2 separate regions of the Homo sapiens genome follow, and region 1 is linked to region 2. Evidence: promoter capture Hi-C in 16 types of primary human blood cells and fetal thymus (Javierre and others, 2016). All regions are on one chromosome and are shown on one strand. The core of a region is centred on a gene start or on the middle of the fragment in contact, and the rest is flanking DNA. Distances in the headings are between cores, read along the strand shown. Region 1 holds the start of TMEM232 (transmembrane protein 232). Region 2 holds the start of TSLP (thymic stromal lymphopoietin).

The links. The method cuts DNA at HindIII sites, captures the fragments that hold promoters and counts their contacts. A CHiCAGO score of 5 or more calls a contact.
Region 1: a contact is called between a fragment that was not itself captured here and the fragment with the promoter of TSLP in region 2, in 1 of 17 cell types (M2 macrophages). The highest score is 5.6, in M2 macrophages.

Annotation. Positions count from the first base shown.
Region 1 is chr5:110,721,451-110,727,517 of GRCh38, reverse strand. It overlaps TMEM232 (transmembrane protein 232), which reads left to right and starts at 847. Exons shown (of 14, transcript NM_001039763.4): 1 at 847-891. The HindIII fragment of the contact is 1,392 bases long and covers 2,336-3,727 here.
Region 2 is chr5:111,067,036-111,073,626 of GRCh38, reverse strand. TSLP (thymic stromal lymphopoietin) reads right to left here and starts at 1,914. Exons shown (of 4, transcript NM_033035.5): 1 at 1,566-1,914; 2 at 695-739; 3 at 1-116. The coding sequence starts at 1,736. The HindIII fragment of the contact is 3,260 bases long and covers 1,555-4,814 here.

The DNA of each region.
Region 1 (6,067 bases), core at 1,782-4,281, 350 kb after region 2:
CCTGCCTCAGCCTCCTGAGTAGCTGGGATTATAGGTGGGTGCCACCACGCCTGGCTAACTTTTGTATTTTTAGTAGAGACGGGTTTCACCATGTTAGCCAGGATGGTCTCGAACTCCTGACCTCGTGATCCGCCCACCTTGGCCTCCCAAAGTGCTGGGATAACAGGCATGAGCCACTGCGCCCGGCCTACGTATGAATTTAATCATAAATGCCCTTCCCCATTCTTCCATATAGTATTTTACACTGGTGAACCTTTGTAAAATATATACAGTTGCTCGTTAGTAGACATAGGAATTCTACAAGGATTTTTAAAGGACTTATATTAGATAATTCTATTGCATACTACCTTTAAAAAGAGGCGTTCTTTTGTGTTTAAATTCGCCCTCTGGTGTTTAGTACATAGCAGAACATTCTAGGTGCTTTGTTTACTCACTGACGGGTGCTGAGGACACTGACTGCTCCAAATTTTCTATGTAAAAGGAACTTACGAACGGCAATTTAATTTAAAGACATAGCTACTTTTGGTATGATAGGCGTGCTGGTTTGTTTTGGGGAAGCAGCATTAAGACACTGAGGAGACATTAAAGCACTGTGAAGCCGCTTCTTGCCGTGGCTTCTTGCAGGATATGCAAGTATGTACAATATTCGAAACAAATCATTACTATGTTCTTTAAAAACGAATAAAGGTCTTTCACACAACATTGCATTTATTCTTTAGAAATTGAACACAAATGTGGTGGAGACGGGACAGGGCAGGTGGAAATTCACTTATAAGTCCTGATTGGCTAAGCCCTGGTCACGAGACCGTAAAAGAGCAACGTCTGTCTCAGAGCGACTCCCACAGCGTCCTTAGCAACCAGCCTTGGTTCCCAGCGGCTCAGAGCGCAGCGGTGAGTGATTAAGAGGTCCTGCTTCAGATGATTTGGGAGCTCAGGTTATTGTCATATTCACCATCCTAGGGCAACTGAAAGACCCACAAAGATCCTCACAGGGGAATACTGAGCCTCCTTTCTCAGGGTGCCATAGCTTTGTTAGAAGAAACACTACTCGCAACCCCAGGCTGGGCCTGCTATCTGGGCCCCTCCTAAGAGTCTAAGCAGTCCATCCTGGAAAAGCCACCAGGTCGTTTGATAGGGGAAGCTTTTTTGTTGGGGAGAATAAAGGAGGTGGGAACTTTCTTATTGCTATGAATAGGGAAATTCATTTAATCTCCCCTGGACTCGCTTATCCTGGGGCAACCTTGAATTCAGAAGACCAGTCTTCACACATCCTCTGTGGTTGGTGAAATTGCACCTTTTTGATTTTTATTTATTTATTATTTATTTAGTATGAAGACTCTTGGACTTCAAAAGAGAAGGTTCAAAAATTTGGCGCTCTGTGTGTGTGTGTGTGTGTGTGTGTGTGTGTGAAAGAGAGAGGGGGGTATATTGGAGATGTGTAATAAAACAATTTTTAAAAGCCGTTAATCTTGAGAAAAATATCCAAGTTGTCTATTAGAAAAATTTCTAGGAGGGGATAAGACTGTAGTAAGAGTCTCTTATTTACCTTACCATCTTAACAGTATGTCTGAACAAATTCTATCATTTGGTTGGTCAAATAATTTGCTTCCTCAGGTTAGAGTCTAAATCTTATATTCTCTAATGCATGTTACCTTTCCAAAGTCTTGATATAATTTTAATATTATCTGTTTTTCAGAAATTGTCTTTTAAAGTATACAGTTTCAACCTCATTTTTATTGGAACTTTAAAAAAATACATGAAGAATTAATAGTAAAACTAAAAAAAGAAATCTGGGTCTGTGCCAGGTTGCAGATGAACTGCCAAGCACCCAGGCAGACTGCTGGAGCCATTTCATGAGCTGAAACATTTCTCTTTAAAGTATAAACATTCTTGGTTTGGGTAATCCACATACATACTTGATTGAAGGTAGCAGATTTTTATTTCACTAAGACCTATTCTGCATGGACCCTTATGATCTTAATGAGTAGTGCTATATTCTTGCTGAACGTCTGATTCATTATCAGAATCATTCATTGTTATGATAAATTTGATAAATGTTCCTGTCTTGAAGTTCATTGTCCATCCAGAGCTCCTGGTAAAGTGTCTGCTCACAAATGCTTAACATTTTCCAAAATGTGTCCTGTATGTAGTTCTAGGAGATGATGTTCTAAAGATTTCTTTAGTCAATAAATTTTAAAGTACTACATGTCACACTGCTACTCAGAGAGATGTAGAGTATATATGAGAATATTAACACTGAGAAATCTTAGTATATGCAAACCTACTTATTTTTGTCTAATCCAGTGGTTTCTCAAACATTTCACAACAGAAAGCTTTTCGAGGTAGTTTCATCCCAAGAAGCAGTATTTTACAGAATGTATTTTAGAAATTAATGTTCTAAACTATATATCACACTTTTTATTTTTGCTTATATTTCCATAAAACCAAATGAATTCATTTCTTTAAAATGTTTCCTGCTGATTCATTACAATACCAAAGAAAACAAATCTCTTTAAAAAATATACCACCTTAGTAAATTATTTTATTCCTATTACTTTCATTGCGTTTTCAACAGTAATATAATAAATCACTTGCTAAATCTATATCGACTTTAGGATTACTAGCTTCTTACTATAACATGGCAAGTTTTTTTGTTGAAACCATATTTTTAACATTATAATATTTATTATGTAGCAGGTGCTCTATACCTATCTGGTGAATGAATAAATAAAAGATAATTGATTTCTTTTTTAGAGTTCCTTTCTGCAGAAGACTAGTCATTTAACTATTTGGTGAATGAATAAATAAAAATAGTTGATTTATCTTTTAGGATGCCTTTCTGCAGAAGGCCAGTTAAATGATCTTAACAGTAGTCCACCAGAAAAATGATGAGAACCTAATCTCATGGCAGTGGCCGTGATCTAGGATTTGATTCCTGATTGTTTTGGGAAGTTATAGAGAGCATGGAATTGAGGATAACTCTGAAATTTCTAGCTTGTCAGTTTGAGTGATTATATTAACTGAGATTTATTAAAATAATACTGGATTAAGAGCAGTGTTTAGGGACCTGAAATGAGAAAATAACAGGTTAAGTTATACACAGTTTAGATGTTTCAAGTACTCGTCTTTGAGCTGGGTGCCCAGAATTCAGTTGGAAAACAAATCTAGAGCTCAAGAGAGGTCAAGATTGGAGGCAGCTGCTTGGGAGTCATTGTTCTACAGTGTGGTTTACAGTATAGGGATGGATGGCATCAACTCCAGAGAGGTGAGAATATGAAGAGAAGGGTATTCTGGCCACAGGACTGATGTGAATATCGAAAGATATAAAGTATGTGAAAGTACTTTGCAAACAATAAAGTCCCATGCAAGAGTTATTATTATTACATCCCAGAAGGCTTACTGAAGAAATAGGTTTGAACTAGGGTTTTCAGGAAGGTGTGAGATATCCTAGGATTGTATTTGATGGAATATAACAGAAACTCGTCTCCAACAACTTGACTGTGGTTCATCTCTAATGCCATAAATGTTCCAGGCTTCTGTCTTTGTGTCCCATCATCTTTGTATGTGGTTTTCATCTTCCTGGTCATCTCTTGATAGCAAGGTGACTGCTCTATCACCATTCTTATGTCTATCATCCAGGGAGGTAAAAGAAATTGGGAAGGGACAAGGAAGAAGGTACTGTGCCTCTATCATGAAAGTAAACTTTACCAACATCCCCTACTAAGCTTTAGCTAGAACTCATAGTTGCAAAGAAAGCTTCAGGAGAAATGTTTTTTAGCCAGAGACTTTGCTGCTCCAAACAAAATTAGGGTTGCTTTAATAAAACAATGGAAGAGTGAATATTGGATAGGAAGCTAGTGGTACCAAGAGATATAGCAGTCCCTAGGAGTATAGATGATAATGTATATAGGGAGAGTTGTGTAAACAGAAGTAATGCTTTGCTAATAGCTAACAGTCTATACAGATTTTGAGATTTTCAGGATACTCATTTAGAGTCTAATTTAAACATAATGGTACCCATGGATAATAATCTCAGTAGGCCCCCAAATATAAACAACTTGTGATCAATGTACTAGCCAAGAAGTAGCCATGATTTATTATATTTGAACTCTATTACATTGATACAAAAATATAATAGATATTTTGCCAAACAGGAAAGCACACAGCCCCACCTGTCTCTTACATTTGAGGTATGTTTCTGATTGAACACATAGACTTCAGGTTATGTGTCAACTGGTCTAATGCCTTAAAGGAATTTCAATTAAAAACAATAACCACTGCCAAAACTCACAAAGGAGAAAATAGATAATCTGAATAGACCTATAACTATTAAAGAAATGGAATCAATAATTAATAGCCTTCCAAAACAGAAAGTACCAGGCCCAGATAGGTTCACTGGTGAATTTTACCAAACATTTAAGGAAGAAATTATATCAATTATCTGCAAGTTTCTTTCAGAAGATAGAAGCAGAGGAAATACTTCCTAACTCATTCTTTCAGGCCAGCATTACCCTAATGCCAAAATAAGACAAGGACATTATAAGAAAAGAAAACTACAGACCAGTCTCTCTCATGAAAATATATCCAAATAGCCTCAACAAAATATTAGAAAATTGAATTCAACAGTAAATACAAAGAATTAACTCTGTGTCTACTTCTGCTCCTGGATTTGTTCACTTCCACTAACATACAGACAGATACACAAACAAGCATATAAAAAGTACTATGGCTGTGGTAGCCAGCCTCTAAGATGCTCCCAATAATCTTTGCCTCTTGACATTCACACCCTTTTGTAGCTCCTACTCACATTGAATCATGGCCCTTCTGTATGACCAATAAAATGTGGTGGCAGTAAAGTAATGATACAGGCTTTGCAAGGCTAGGTATAAAGGCATTTAAGCTTTCATCTTGGTTTCTTGGATTGTTCTCTCTGGGGGAAGCCAGCCTCCATGAGAGCACACAGGAAGCTCTGAGGAGACGTCCACATGAAGAGGAACTGAGGCCTGCTACAACAGCCAGTGTTTACTTGACAGCCGTGTAGTGAACAAACCACCCTGGAAGTGGATCCTACAATCCTAGTCAACTCTTTAGAGGACAGGACTGACTGAACTTAGATGACTAGCTGACTGACTGACTGAACCTGCAGCTGCCATTTGACTGCAACTTCATGAGAAACCATGAGCCAGTTATACCCAGCCATGCCACTAACAAATTCCTAACCCAGAGGAACTGTGAGAGATAATAAATGGCAGTGAGTTTTGGAGTGATTTGTTATACAAATTAGATAATTAATACAACAGCCAAGCCTTTTGTGAGTTTATTTTTCTAAAGATATAGGGGAAAAGGTGATTTCATTGTAAGAACTTTATTTCTGCCATGTCCTTTCTTCTCTCATTCTGTCTTCCATTTCCACCCTACCACATCTCTATCTTCTGCAGCCTCCCACTTAACCTCCAACCCCTGACAATGTTTTATGTGATATCAATAAAATACTGCCCTGGAATTCAGCACTCTAATGGTTTGGCTGCTGCAGAAATAATATTTTTATGTGTTTTAAGAAGTGATTCTAACTATCAGGGGCAGTGCCACCTGCTAGGCAACATAAATGCATGGATGTGCTTCTGCTTCTCTCCCATAGCTGCTTCTTCTAAGATTCCTTTTTCTAAGCCACCCTGGGATTCTGATGAATAAATTTATATTTTTCCTTCTTGTTTAAACTATGTCTTTCTTATTCGGATGTCTAATATACAAAACAGGTAAAAATGGAGCTGCTCTGGTCAGTCTAGGGAGGCAGACGCACCCCCTCTTACTTCCCAAACACTAACACACACAGATATATATATACACACACACACACACACATGATATGCAGACTCACACATCTCACACATATGATAGCTTATGAGTCATTTCTGTGGAGCATAGCTTGAAATTCAAAATTCTAGATCAGTATTTCTCAAGGCAGGAGAGGTTGTGATACTGTTATCTTGAGAACAACAGTTCTTACTTATGAGGTACTCTCTCGGAATTGAGGAATATATTTAGCAACCCTGGACCCTGGGCACTG
Region 2 (6,591 bases), core at 665-3,164:
GGGCACCAGATAGCTAAGGCAGCCTTAGTTTTCATGGCGAACATTTCTTTGGCGAGCGACGCGCAGCCGGCGGTGGGATTGAAGGTTAGGCTCTGGATTTCAGTAAGGCAATGTGGCTGCTCATAGGCGGCAAAGTTTACGAGAAAAGGAGAAAACACCAGAGAGAGAAAGAGTTGGTGAGAATTGAGTGAAAGGGGAGGGGAGGAAGGTCAGGGAGGAGCGGGGAACACAAGTCGAGAGTCAGAGAGAAGAGGTCAGGGTTGAGTAGAGCAAGGAAGAACCAACCGCGGGGGAGCAGGGGCGTGGCGAGGGTGGCGGAGGGCACTCGTCGCGAAAAGACTGTCACCCACGCTCGCTCCTCCCAAGTCTCCAGGGGGCGGAGGCTGCCAAAATTCCGAGCCCGAGCGCGGAGGCGCCGGACCCCAGCAGGTGGTGCCCCTAACAACGTTCCCTCGTCCCAGTTCCCAATTTGCCTTTCCTCCGGATAGAGACTTCCTCTCCCTAAATTGGAACAGAAGTGTTGTCCCAAGCTAGGCGCAGCCCCGCTCTGACAGCCCAGATGTCCCCTTTCCCCCGGCGGCGGCGTCCCGGAGCCCAGGCACCTCTCGGAGTTCTGCACGTAGCAGGATACTCCCTCTCCAAAATGCCTGGCGTCTCCCTGGAGAAAGCCAGCAGCACTGAACTCTCTACTCACCCGATTGCTACAAGAGACGGTGTTGTTGAACTCGGTACTTTTGGTCTGGAAGAAAGAAAAATAGGACAAAGAGGGTAAAGACTTTTAAGTCCACAAGGAAAATCATCCCTCCACCCTTTGCTCCCAGGCTTTAAAGGTGCCCTGAAAACAGTTTCCACTCAGGTACCTTTTTCCTATGTCATTGACAAGGCAGTGAAATAGCCATTAGATAGTGCTGGTTAGTGCTTGAAACCACACCAAAAGGTTCAGGTCTCAGAGGGCGACCTCCCCCCTCCCTTCCCTCAAGCCATAACTGCACATAGCACTATGCTTGTGAGTAATAATGCCATCCTTTGGATGTCCGCATCTGTACTGTGGCCATTCATGAATGCAAACTCTGTCTAGAAATTAGGTTAATCAGGAAAATGATTACTACTGTATGTTAAAAAAAATTCCAAGTACACCATATTCTGTAATAAATAGCATCCTGAAACATCTAAAACACTGGAGAGACCTGGAGCACAGCATCAATCCTTAGAGTTTATCTCATGAGAATTATCTCTTTTACTCCTCTTTCTTAAGCTCTTACCTCCTGCTTTTTACAGCATAGTCAGAGTAACACTTTAGCAAAGGATAGACATCCTTTGACGCATAACGCGCTGTCTATCAATACCTGCTCCTCATCAGCATCTGCACACTTAGAATGTGCCAATTTCTAGATAATCATTTTAGATTAGATATTTGAATATCACTTGTAAGAATCCTTGACAAAATGTGGGGCCATGATTTTTTCTAAATTATTTTTCTTTCCTACAAAGTTAAATTGTAGAGTGTGTGTATGCCGACTCCTCTGATGAAAATACATTTGTTTTAAAAAAGCTTCTTCACTTACCCCACTCATATATGTAATCAGGTCTTTAGAAATAGTACTGAGATAGGCTGCTTTAATCTTCTCAAAGTCACAGTTAGTGAAGTCGTAAGTTAACACCAGCCCTACAAGTTGTAAGATGAAGATTTTCCTGAAAGAAACTGACAGAACATATAGTAAGGCAAAAGGGAACATACGTGGACACCCAATTCCACCCCAGTTTCACACTAAACTCTTCCCACCACGAGTGTAAGAGATCTGTAAGGCCTGCCTTAGGGGCCAGTGCTCAAGCACCAGGTTTTGCCTCTCATTGCCAGTCCACAGGAAGCCCTTATTCACCCATGCTGTTGCCTTAAGTTGGAGTCTCCCTGATGCTCCAGAGCTTTCTGGCTGCACTATATAACACCTAAACGCCTACGGGCTCTTTTCTCCTAGGCCAATGATTTTCTACCATGTCATTCTCTTCCTTTATAGAATTCTGAATTGATGATGTGAAAGGAAAAAAAAAAAGGAGTAGCTAAATCTATGGAATTTTAACATCAGTAAAGTCATCAGGAATTTCCCTCACCTTCCTCCTTTTTGCTTTGCCCTAAACACTTCATAAGTGTGAATGTCCTTTAAGAAACGGATACCAGTGTCTTTCTCCTACAGGGCATTTCCGTGACCAATCCTTTCTATTTGGGAGAAACACCTTCTGAAACCAGCAGCCACTGTAAGGATTTGGAGTCCTTGCATATGTCCCATGCATTCTGAACATCTTTGAGCATTTCCTGTGGCCACTTTCAACTAGTGCTTTCCCTTCTCCTTGGCTAGTAAGAAACTGTGCTTGCTTATGGGATGCTTTGGAGGGTGGGGTGCAGTCTCAGTCTTCGACAGCACTTCCATGTGAAAGCATTAAATGTGCAACCGTGACCAGAACCTTAGGGGCAGGAACGATAAGAGGTTGAAATAAGTGGGGAAAGATCTGATGTGGCTTGTTCTCAAAAACCCTACTTTTCAAATTTCCCATATCAATTTCAGGAAAAACGCCTACTCTTGGTGGCTAGGGGCACCTTAGGGGCTGAAGAGTCCTCTAGCACTTTCTAGCAGGTGTCAAGAACTTTTAAAACCACAAATTCCAGCGCCCAGCCACCTTCACAGTCCCACTCTTAAGGCCAGCGACACAAGAAGCGGAGCCAGACCGCGCTGCTGGGTGCCCAGCGGCGACCGCACGGAGACGATGCTGTCCTGAGCTCAGCTCTCCCGGAGGCGGCGCACGCTTTAGTGCGCTCTGCCTCGCAGAGGCTTAGCCCCGCGCAGCGTAGACTGGAAAACGTCTGTCACCTGGGGCCTCAGCCCGGGCACCAGTTTTAGAGACAGGAGAAGCATCGAGATGGCGGGCTCAGATTTTTACTAGCAAACTCTTGTTGATCCAGAAAAGAGCGCTTAAAAGCACAGCAAAGTGAGTCAGGGAGAGTGCCCTAGAGGATGTCTGTCTAGCAGTCTTCCCAGTTCCAGCAACACCAATGGAGGGTTGAAGGGAGGGAAAGGCCGACACCGATCAGGTTGCTGAGATGAACCCCCTGCTCCTCCCTGGCTTGGCTCATGCGGCCCTGGGCCCTCTCTACACCCAGGTCCCCTCTCTCTCTCTTTCCCTTCCGCTCCCCCGTCCATCGCACCCCTCACCCCCGCCCCCCGCCCTCGCGTGTCGGAGCCTGCATCGCTCTGGTCCTTGGGAAGTTCCTAGGAGTCATCGCTCGGAGAAAGGAGGTTGGACGCCGTGTGTGAGTCCCAGCAAATGTCACAGGCCATGCGGTGCCTGGGGAAAAGAGCAAGGAATGTCGAGGGATTCGGGAAAAGAGTAGGGGACAAACTGGAGCCAGAGTTGAACTCTTCTTCATAGAAGGCACTCGAGAGGGTCAGAAAACCTCTGATTCACCGCTGACTTCAAAAATGGCTCTTTTCTGGAATTCTTCATGTGTTGTACTCGAGTCACCACAGCATTCTTTGAAAAAAAAGTCCACTCTTCCCCCATCACCAACTTCTCAGGGTATTGTGGGATGATGCCAAAACCTGATTAATCTATTGTGACATCAGAGATTATTCTGGTCGGCAGCTGGACATTATTATATAGGCAGACAGGAGCTAAACTTAGATTTCTTCACTGGGCTGGGATAGCTCCAAGAGACAAAGGAAAGGGCATGGTGGCTGCTTCTGTCACCCTCACCTGACATGCCTTCCCCTCTAGTGGCTTGCTGTAGGGCCAGAGAGTGTGAGTGCCCACTAGAACCTTCGGCTTCATCTCTTGATTGCTGATGGGGGCAAGAACAACAGAAAGCAGCCTACACTGAGCTTCGACTTGCATTCTTCTGGAGGTATAACCAGGCTGCCTCCCTTTTTTTGTTTCCTCTTTTAAAAACCCCTTGTGTCTATGATCTATGTAGAGTCTTTGTTCAGATGAGGTAGGCAGGGTATCTCTTTCTAAGGCATCCCAGGTGTCTCTTTGTCTGTTAAAACATTGCTAAACACTTGTTCCTTTTGCCCCCAATTTCCTTATCTGTAATTATGTGACCTCTTAGATCACCTGGATTATATTACTTGTCTGCTCAAAAAGTTATGGCAAAACAACCTACTCAAGGTTGTTTTGAGATTACAATTATCCCTCCTGCGTTGGCTCCAAGCTGTCTTTCCAGCCCTATTTCCTTCATTTTCCTAGGCTTCCAGCAAACAGTATCTGAAGGTAATATGCTCTAAACATGCTCTGAGCTGTTTTCTTCCCAATCTGAGATGTTAGATTTTCATGTCTTGCCATGTTCATCTTATTTGATGTCTCCAAAAGTGGTCTCCTACCAGGATGTGACCTCATTATCCTGTAAGCCGTATCTATTTTGGACTTCTTTCTATGGCTTCTATAGATTACTTAACATTTCAATAATGTTTTTCAACCTTATCTCTCTATTAGATTGCGAGTTCTTTAAAAGTAGGTAATGTTTTATAGCAGTTCATTTGTTCACTATTTACCTTTCCAGTAGCATTTGAAGTGATTTGCAATAAATACATTGGTGTCAAAAGGTAAAAAAACAGTCAAGGTGAGACAAGAGAATGGAGCAAAGGAATAGGGCGGTTAGAATCAGGTGCAGGGAAGGCTATAGAAAAGCATTACTAAAAACTGGAGAATTATAACAATTGATCTCAAAAGTGAGTTTTGAGCTTCTAAACTGCCACTACAAGGGGTAGACTATGACAAGCTCTACCACACACAAATTCATCATGAAAGCCAGTTTTTCTTAAGCTTATGGTCATCATCATAACCACAATAGGGCTGTCTTCTGTACTACATGTAATAGATATTCAATGAATTCTCAATGTGCTTAAGCATATTAACCTTCTATGAAGATCATTGTCAGGAAGCAAATTCTTTTCCATTGAAAGAACCTCTCTATAAATACTTCTTTTTCTAGCTCTTTGCTGCTGTCTTCCTGGAATCTGCTTATGTCTCACCTGGGGCAACAATTCAGACCAGGGCCATCTGTGAAAATTCAGGGTGAGCTGAAAAGCTTCCTGTTTTCCTTCTCTTTTCATTTGTCCAAATGCTGAAGGAGTGAACAGTATCTGCATACGTAGTTTGGGAAATCCTAGGTTAGGTCAAGAATGGTGTGTCTTCCATATGGAAATAGAAGTGACATCATTTGTAACACTCTGTGATTACTCAGGAAGCTTAGGCAATACTCTTACCCATGTGAAGGACCAGAAAATGATCCATGACATAGCTCTTTTCTCCTACCCTCACTAAAAAGATAAATCATTCATTAATTTTCTTAATACTTTTATTTCTTGTTTTAATAATGCTTCTCACTGTTTCTTTCATTTCGTTATTGTTTCCCACTCCTTCTTTTATTCTCTTATTCTTTCCCTCCTTCTTTTTAAATTTATGTCTTTCCTCCTCTTCCTTGAATTGTCCTGAATATTTAAAGTAGCCTAGAACTCATGCAAAACTCAGTTTGGATTTGAAAAATAGTTGCCAAAAGGAGATTGGTATTTTTTTTTACCTTATTCAATAATATAATTATGGGATTTTAAAAAATGGAAGGGATATCAGAGAGGTTATTGATGAGATGGGGGAGATCTGTCTCTTTGGATTAAGAAAAGTCAATGACACAGCTTAAGCTTGGTAATAATTTAGAAAGGGTGTAATAATGGAGTTTCCCTAGCAGAAGGGTGTTCTTTGGTCTTGAAAGTAAAGTGTATTGCTCTGGACCCTCCAGGACACAAGTCATAAAATCATTCTACTTCTTGGTTTTCATATGCTCATATAAAAGAGAGTGTCACACTTTCAGAGGTGGACATTGTTTCTTTTTTTCATATTCTACCTTGTTTATAGCCAAGCATGGTATTTATGTAAGGAGAAGTGGCTAGTGTTCACCTCTGAAAGTGATATTTATTTTGCCTGTTTCCTTTGCATTTTATGTTTATGCTCATGCAGATTTGCTGTTGGTCTGAATCATTGATGTGGTTCACCAGACTCCATAGTTCCTCTAAGATCTCTTGGGAACATTTGTGGACCAGAAAGTAGGTGAAGGAGTTTCCTATGACAAATGTGAAAAACAACTTTTTTATTTCATTATATTCCCAGGCTGATGATACCTGCATAATCAGCCCATGGCTGTGAAATGTTCCCAGATCTTTTTGAATTGGAGAGTGAGGAGACTAAATATATTCATGTAAACCTCATGCTTACGTTCATTGCTCTGTGAAGAAACAGTCTTACTCCCAGCCGGTGGGGGTAAAACAAGTTCTTGCTTACTTTACTGTTTTTCTACAACATAACAGGACATGAATAGGGAGAAGGTTGTTCAAGAAGAATATAGGAGTTGAGCTTTCTTAGAATGCTTCAAAAAAAGTTTTGGAAGAAGTCAGAGCTAAAGGATAGTTTCAGTTCTGGATACTTTGCAAGGATATTTACTATGCCGGATATCTTCTAATTTCCCCTTTAGGTCTAATCTCTGTCCTTCCCTATGTGGCTTTATGCCTTGGAAGCAGACCCATAAGGACTGCATCCACAGGCTCCGCT